2 separate regions of the Homo sapiens genome follow, and region 2 is linked to region 1. Evidence: promoter capture Hi-C in 16 types of primary human blood cells and fetal thymus (Javierre and others, 2016). All regions are on one chromosome and are shown on one strand. The core of a region is centred on a gene start or on the middle of the fragment in contact, and the rest is flanking DNA. Distances in the headings are between cores, read along the strand shown. Region 1 holds the start of LRRC69 (leucine rich repeat containing 69). Region 2 overlaps CALB1 (calbindin 1).

Region 1 (3,798 bases), core at 428-2,927:
CCCAGTGTTGGAGACTGGGCCTGGTGGGAGGTGATTAGATCCTGGGGGTGGAGTTCTCATGAATGCATTAGCATCCTCTCAGTGCTGTTTTCCTGCTAGTGAGTGAGTGAGTTATCCTGAGATCTAGTTGTTTATGTGTGTAGCACCTCCTTCCTATCTTCCTCCAGCTCTGGCCATGTGAAGTGCTGGCTCTCCCTTTGCCTTCCACCATTATTGTAGGCTTCCTTAGGGCTCCCCAGAAGCTGAGCAGATGCCAGCACCATGCTTCCTGTATAGCCTGCAGAACTGTGAGCCAATTAACCCTCTTTTCTTTATAAATTACCTAGTCTCAGGTATTTATAGCAGTGCGAGAATGGACAAATACAAACCCCTATGTGTCTATTACTCAGCATTAATAATTATCAACATTTTGTCAATCTTGTTTGATCAGTTTCTTCCACCCACTTTCCCCCCTAGATTATTTTTAAAAAAACTCAAGATATCATTTTATTTCACTTGAAAATTTCAGTATGCATTTCTGAATGTTAAGCACATTTAAAATAAATACTACCACCATACCATTTTCACATGTAACAGAATTAATTTCTCTCATCTAATAGCCGATGAACAAATTTCCCTGAGATGTTTGTATTCAACTGAGGATTCAAATACAGTCCAGACATTGCATTTAGCTGTTATTTGCCCTAAGTTTCACTTACATCGTAACAGTTTTCCCTCCTTTTTATTAATGTCTTTCATTTGTTGGTGAAACCTTGTGACATTGGACCAGGGACCAGTCCTGTAGAATCTTCCATGTTATAGATTTGACTGTTTCCCTATAATGAACTTAACTTATTCTCTAGTTCTGTTTTTTTGTAAATGGTAGTTAGATCTTGAAGCCATGATTAGATTCAGATTTAATTTTTGGACAGGAACATTTCATAGGTGGTGCTGCTGTGTACTTTTTAATTCATTACTTCATAAGGCTTATAATGTGATTGTCTCAATTTTATTGATGCTAAAATGATTAGTGGGTTATTAACCTGATCACTTGATTATAAAGTTCCTCATCAACCTTTCATCTAATACTTTCAGTCTCCAATTATGATTTTTGCATAGCTCCATTATTTTATTAGAATTTGCAAAAATTGTGATTATTCTAGTTATTTTGTCTTTCTCATTTATTAGTTTCAATTCTTGTGAATAAGAACTTTATTAACTATTAAGTTATATTTAAGTGCAGTTTGTACTGGAAAAGCAGAATAAATGCTTATATTTTTTCCTTTATCAATTTTCAGACTGAGTTGGTGCGCTAGTAATTCCCAGGGTGAGTAATGTTTCTTTTTAAAAAATGCCATTATGAACTCAGATTTTAATGTGTTTTGATATGTTTCAGTCTATTCTAGATTATTTCTTTCTGATCCTTAATATTTTCCATCTTAGACTAGTGGGAGCTCCTAGAAGTTCACTTCTGTGTCCTCATTAATCTCTGATAGCTTTAATATCGCAGGCATAAGCTATTTTAGGCTTACATTATACATTTCCTGCCCCAAACCTGGACCATCTACTTTCCTTTCGTATCTTTCACATAGGAAAATAATCTAATGCTTCCCCCCTTCAACATGGTGGATCTCAGAATGTTCTTGTTTCTATGACACACCAATTCTGTAATTAGAGGTTCTAAAGCTGTATAATAAAGAACTCTAATGGTTACCTTGTTTTCTACTTCTTTTCCAAGATCATGACTGAGAGATTGTTAATAAAAGCATTGAGTGGTGGTAAAAATACGAAGATCATTACTTTGAATGGGAAGAAGATGACAAAGATGCCCTCAGCATTAGGAAAACTGCCTGGCCTGAAGACTCTAGTCCTTCAGAATAACCTAATCCCCAAAGTGTGTCCAGAGTTATGCAACTTGACCCAGGTGAGGAACAGTGTTTTGCTGTTGTGGTTTGGTATTGAAGATGGAAAACAGGAAGAGAGAAAAAAGGGGTAAGAGACAGAACAATAACACTTCGATCTATGGAGACTTAGGTATCTGGAGACTTAATGTGGAGTGTTGCTGGAGAGGCATCAGAAGGCTTTCTCCCTTAGGGAATTCCATGTGGTAGGGAGAGATGTTTCAATTTATTCATGTGCTCTTTGGCCCACATCTGGAGTCAGGGGACTAGGTCTCTGCCACACTCATCTTTTTAGAGGCTGTCATCTGGAAAGGGGTTGGAAACCTGGATCTGGTCGTCTATCTTGGGGGCTTACATCTGGAAGTAGTTTTGAGGATCCAGGAGATGCTGTTCACCCTGGGGACTGTCCTGAAGCTTTTGCATTTAGAATGAAGAGACATTTAGGATGCAGCAAGGGAGTTCCTTTTCAATTTCCTAGGGCAGGCTGAAACTTTGAAATGGAGTGTTGGCAGGGAATAGGAAGGAGGGGACATTTATTTCTCCTGAAATAGTCTTTAAAGGAAGTTTAATATTTTAAATAAAAAATATTCTTTTTTAAAGAGGAATAGTTGACATGAATGAATCCCATATGCTTGTGTTAAACCTTTCTGCCTAACAATGTGAAACTCTAGCTGCCAAAAATCTTGAGGTTGAGAGAAGGCAAGGGATATTAACTTTGTAATTTTCTTTTTGTTCACTGCTGAATTGTCATCAGCACAGGAAGAACCTAGAAGCAGCTAAGGCGTTATAGCTCATTAATTTTGAATTTACAGTTCCAAAAAATAAATCTGTATTTTCTTACTTTCACCCTACCTCATTTCCTTTTACGTTTAAGAAATTGAGTTTGTAATCTGTAGTTGTATCTTTATAAGAAATAGGGTAACTTTTACAAAGTCCCCCTTCATTAGTAATTGCAGAAGGTATACTTGTAGTTACAAGACAACAAGGACTTGGAATTTTTTAATAGGAAAGAGGAGTTTCTTTGCAAAAGAATTTGGGACTTGACTGAGTCATGAACCTATTCTCTCCCTCTATTTGAATTTATTTCCATTAAAGTAGTACTAACCATTGGTTACCGAGAATTAAATATTACAAAAAGCTTATAGCAAGAAGCTATCTTCTATCCCACTTCCCCTCATCCTCAATCCCGATCTCCATATATAACCACTTTTAACTCATCTATTTTATTGATTTGTCTATTTTTGGCATCATTTTTCTTCATCTTCTAGATACAGTTATATTAATGTATCTATTGTGTATTGATCCACATCTGGAATCAGGGGATTAGGTCTACAGGTATCTTTTACATGTAATGTTACTACACCTTTATTTCTTCCTTCATCAACTGCAGTCTCTTTTGACTCCCCACTTCGTAAGATGACAGTGTCAGCCTTTGTAATCCACCTTCAGCTGTCCTTTCCTCTCCCCCCTCACAAACTCTGAAGTTTTTACTTTTATAACACTTACAGCTTTTATATCCTATTCAGTTATAACCATAATTAAATATTTGTTTTGTGTCTTGGGTAACTCTAAACTTCTAAAAATATATATTACTAATAAATAAATATTCACATGGAGTCAATTAATCTATGATTATATTTTCTTTCTTATATGCCATTTTTGTTCCCTTGGAGTTTCTAATAACCTTTCCTTTGTTCTTGTGCCTTAGTTTTATGGTAGCCTCATTTTATTTCAAACTGTATAATTTTTTTCTGTCAAATGTACTTTTCCTTGAGAGACTTCCCTCTAAGACCCTCCATCCTCTGCCCCACTCTATGTTGACTGCTATCTAGGTTTGCTAGATACTGTCAGCCAAGGACATTCCCTTTGTTGCTCTCTTAAATTGGACCCACTGTTTCCTGTATCCTGTATTTTCCTT
Region 2 (3,798 bases), core at 739-3,238, 1.0 Mb before region 1:
ACATCTGGAATCTCTCCAATAAGAAAATAAATATTTATTTCACCCTTTTAGAGCATAGAATACCACAAACAGAAGCAGAAAACAGATGACAAATAAATCCTTACAGAACAGAATTTTTGAATAATTTTGAATTGTTTTATTTTCTATTGGGTATTAGAAACTCCATAAAGCTCTCCAACTCTCCACTGCACTTATATATACGTCATTCACAAAGACACATCCAGATGTAAACACACTCATACCCGTATTTGGGAAGCATTCACCTTTTTAGATAGTAGCAACTATTGCTATAATATGTTATACCAAAGTAGTATATATGAATTACATTAAATATATAAAATGTGTATACTAAATGAACACTAAATATGTGAAAAATTAACATTATTTTTGTTTTTAAAGAACAGAATGTGTCCAGTGTTATAATGGATATAGATTTAGTGACATCTTTTTAAGAAGGAAAGGAAGGGCATTCTGTGGTTCGAGGTATTCTAAGAATCTTTTGTAGGAGGCAGATTTTTTTCAGGATCCCATGCTGACAAAACATTTTATAATCCATTGACCATAAATTCTGATATTGTCACACTACCTACCAAGATACTGGACAGCTCGATTACTTAGTTTTGTGCCCATGGGGAAATATTTCCCAACATATATATTTAAATTTTAATTAGCTCTCGATTAATTTGCTTCCTGGATTTGAACTGGTTTATGACATTTAATCAGATATGTCAGGCCAATCCAACAGAGGGAAACTCCCATCTGAGTGGGTTTTGAAAGGCTGCTTCAATATTCTACCTGGAAAGGAGCCTTTCTTTAAATAGGCATCCCTTAAGATTGGAACAAAATAGAAAATTGATAAATGTAGGTTATTGTCCATTACCTAAAAGTTATTCAGAGCTTAGACCTGTTGATTGTGACACATAGCAAGAAACTCTCCCCCATTTGTTTGCTAGTGCTATTGTAAGTGGAGATGTAATGAGGAATTAAAGATGACCATGAAAACCTTTTTGGTTGTTTTGAAATTAAAGCTTAGCCCCACCTTATAATAAATAACACTAGTTAGTGAATAAGGCAATAGTAAAGTTCTAGTAGTTCCCCCTCCCCAACCCAGATAAAAGTAAGCTGAGATGCTGAAAGCAAACCTCAGTTACATCAAATATAATCAAACCCTTTATTAGATTGTTTCTCAGAGTAATTAAAAAGTCTAACTCCTTCTTCAATCTAATATAACAGTAGCTTTTATAGTATAGAGCCATGTTTATGGTTTATTGATGTAAATCCATGGAGTAAGAATTCACAGTACCTTCACAGTACTGAAAGCTGTATAAATATATCTATCTCCTGGTAATCCTAATTCTGTGATGAGTCAAAATGAGCAAACTTCGTCCAATAGAAACTAACTTCATAGACATTGGTTTATTTTATCTGGAACCTTATTTATCTGCTCTTTTTTTTTTCCTGAAACAGTAAGTGCCTATGTGTAAAGCAGTTTTCTTGGCTCTATTATCAACATTCTATAATTGATCTTAGTTGTCACTATTTACCATAGCATCAACCTTAGGGCATATTTAGATTTCCTCATTCAAAGCACCAATACAAAACCCCAAAACAACAAAAATCAAAAGAAAGAAGGAGACCCATTTTAACTTGCTTAATTAATAAAGTAGCTAGATGGTCTCTTTAAACTCAACAAAGTGTGATTTCCCAAACTATGATAAAAATGGATTTAGGAACTCTATAATAAGTGAGTTTTTGGTGATATAATTTATATATATATAGTGTACCTTATATATGTGTAAGTTATATAATTTAGTGATATAATTACACTGGCTTTGGAAGCAAAACAAGTCATCTTTTGATAGATAAAAATTACACAGCTCTACAAGGAAGAAAATGCTCATATGTTGAGTCTTAAAGCCAATGCCTGCAGAACTCAAAATGACAAGATGTAAGCATCCCTAAGTATTTCACTTTTCAAATGAAATGATACCTATGTGCATATGATGCCCACACCACCGTTTATTTATTTCATCCTGTGTAGCCTTGGGAGTTAGCAAGAACATCATACTACTTCATGAGCTCTTGGGTACAATCTTTTCAAGATCAGTCTTACCATTAGGTCTGTATACTCGGCTAATTTTGTGTCATCAACAGTCTTGTTTGCTTTTTCTAGCAGGTCCTTTAGAAAGTTCTGTTAAAACAAAGAACACTTAGATTAATTTCATTAATAATATATCGTCTACTTTCATTTCAGAATGCCTTGGAACAGGACATACCAGGAATGCAAAGAAAGTCTCCTTTTGAGGGGTAGAAGCAGGTGAGTAGAGGAACTTATAATAGAAGAAAGACTAAACCAGGTTGTCCTCCTGGCATTCCAGCAATGAAACTACCTTTGACAGGAATAATACCTGCTTTTTACTGAGACTTGATTGATCATTGTCTGTGCATTACCATGACTTTATGATTTCAATTAACCTGAATAAAACCTTTTAAAACCAGCCAGCCCAATGGATGCATTTCTTCTTACTGATATCTTCACAAGTACTCATTGGATTGTTCTGCAAGAAACACAAGGGCCTTTATACCTTTGGAATATTGTGAAAAAATATCAGTAAACCAAATAGAGATCTATCCCTAATTTCAAATCCATTTTCTGCTCCCCAGGCTGTATTTACACATTAGTTTATAGCCAGCATGATGCTTATTTCTCCAGAGGGCCAGTTGGGTAGTTTTTAGCCTAATGCAGTCCAAAGCACTTTGGTTAAAATGCTTCCACTGACTATTTAAATTAACAAAATTGGCCACAGTTGATGTCATTGAATCTTTGAAAGATATATGAATCATATTAAAATAGAGATTAATGTGGGAAGGATGAAAAAAAGATGATTATTAACTTGACACCTGGAGCTTAGGAATGAATTTAAGTTTTTTTAACAGAAACATAAATAAAAGCTTTACAAAGATTTGCCATATAAGTGACAGTGTAAGCACTTTATAATAGTCATTCATTTTGTTTAGTGCTATTCATTCGTAACTCCTTTATTTTCTCAGAAAATGAATTAATGCAATTAGGAAAAACTAGGCAGATACTGTGCCCAGATATTATTGAAGGATTAGATTTCTTTGATTTAGCAATGACTTATCTCTCTCCTAAATGTTCCAGTTCTGGGCTGATTTGATGCCACTTTTTTAAAGGAAAGAGACTCTTTTCTTAGTTTGATAAAAATTTTTTACTTCAAATATTCCACTTCAAATCCAAAGTGAAGCATGGAAAATTCAAAGTTATCTGTTGGGGTTGAATTTTATTTTTGAGCCTTCTGGGGCTTTTGTCAGAGATTAATTGGGTTAAAAAGCCTCATCAGAGACTAAAATGGTGGTCACAAAAATAGCCTCGGAGAAACCTTGGGACGCAGAGATTCAAAGTCGTGTCTGAGAGCAAGTGATGTTTTACTCTATTATGGATCTTAAAATTAGCTTTCTTGAAAGATCCATTAAAAAAGAATGCCAACTTATCTTCAAAATTCCCCAGGGAAGAGGACTTCTATTTAGAATCTCTTTCTGAGAATAAAATTTAGAACAAAGAAGGAGGCTTTTAGAATATTTAGAGGTCAGTATTGGAAATGAGCTAAGGTTTTCATTATGAACTAAAAAGGATCTTTAAAAGAATATTTTTGGTCTAACTAATAAAATAAAAACACAGTGGCTTAACTGTCACCTTGTGGATTGCTGAGCTGCAAGTTTGTAAAATACACTGTTTTCAGTGACTTCACATTAAAAACGTTTACATTTTCAAGAGGA

Evidence for each region. The method cuts DNA at HindIII sites, captures the fragments that hold promoters and counts their contacts. A CHiCAGO score of 5 or more calls a contact.
Region 2: a fragment that was not itself captured here is called in contact with the fragment with the promoter of LRRC69 in region 1 in 1 of 17 cell types (neutrophils); the score reaches 6.9 in neutrophils.

What each region holds. Positions count from the first base shown.
Region 1 is chr8:91,100,942-91,104,739 of GRCh38, forward strand. LRRC69 (leucine rich repeat containing 69) reads left to right here and starts at 1,678. Exons shown (of 8, transcript NM_001129890.2): 1 at 1,678-1,903. The coding sequence starts at 1,721. The HindIII fragment of the contact is 4,824 bases long and covers 1-2,292 here.
Region 2 is chr8:90,063,785-90,067,582 of GRCh38, forward strand. It overlaps CALB1 (calbindin 1), which reads right to left. Exons shown (of 11, transcript NM_004929.4): 6 at 2,114-2,191. LOC124901976 (a long non-coding RNA gene) reads left to right here. Exons shown (of 2, transcript XR_007061004.1): 2 at 2,255-2,498. Among named protein-coding and RNA genes, the nearest start is that of CALB1, 17 kb to the right of the region's middle. The HindIII fragment of the contact is 1,924 bases long and covers 1,027-2,950 here.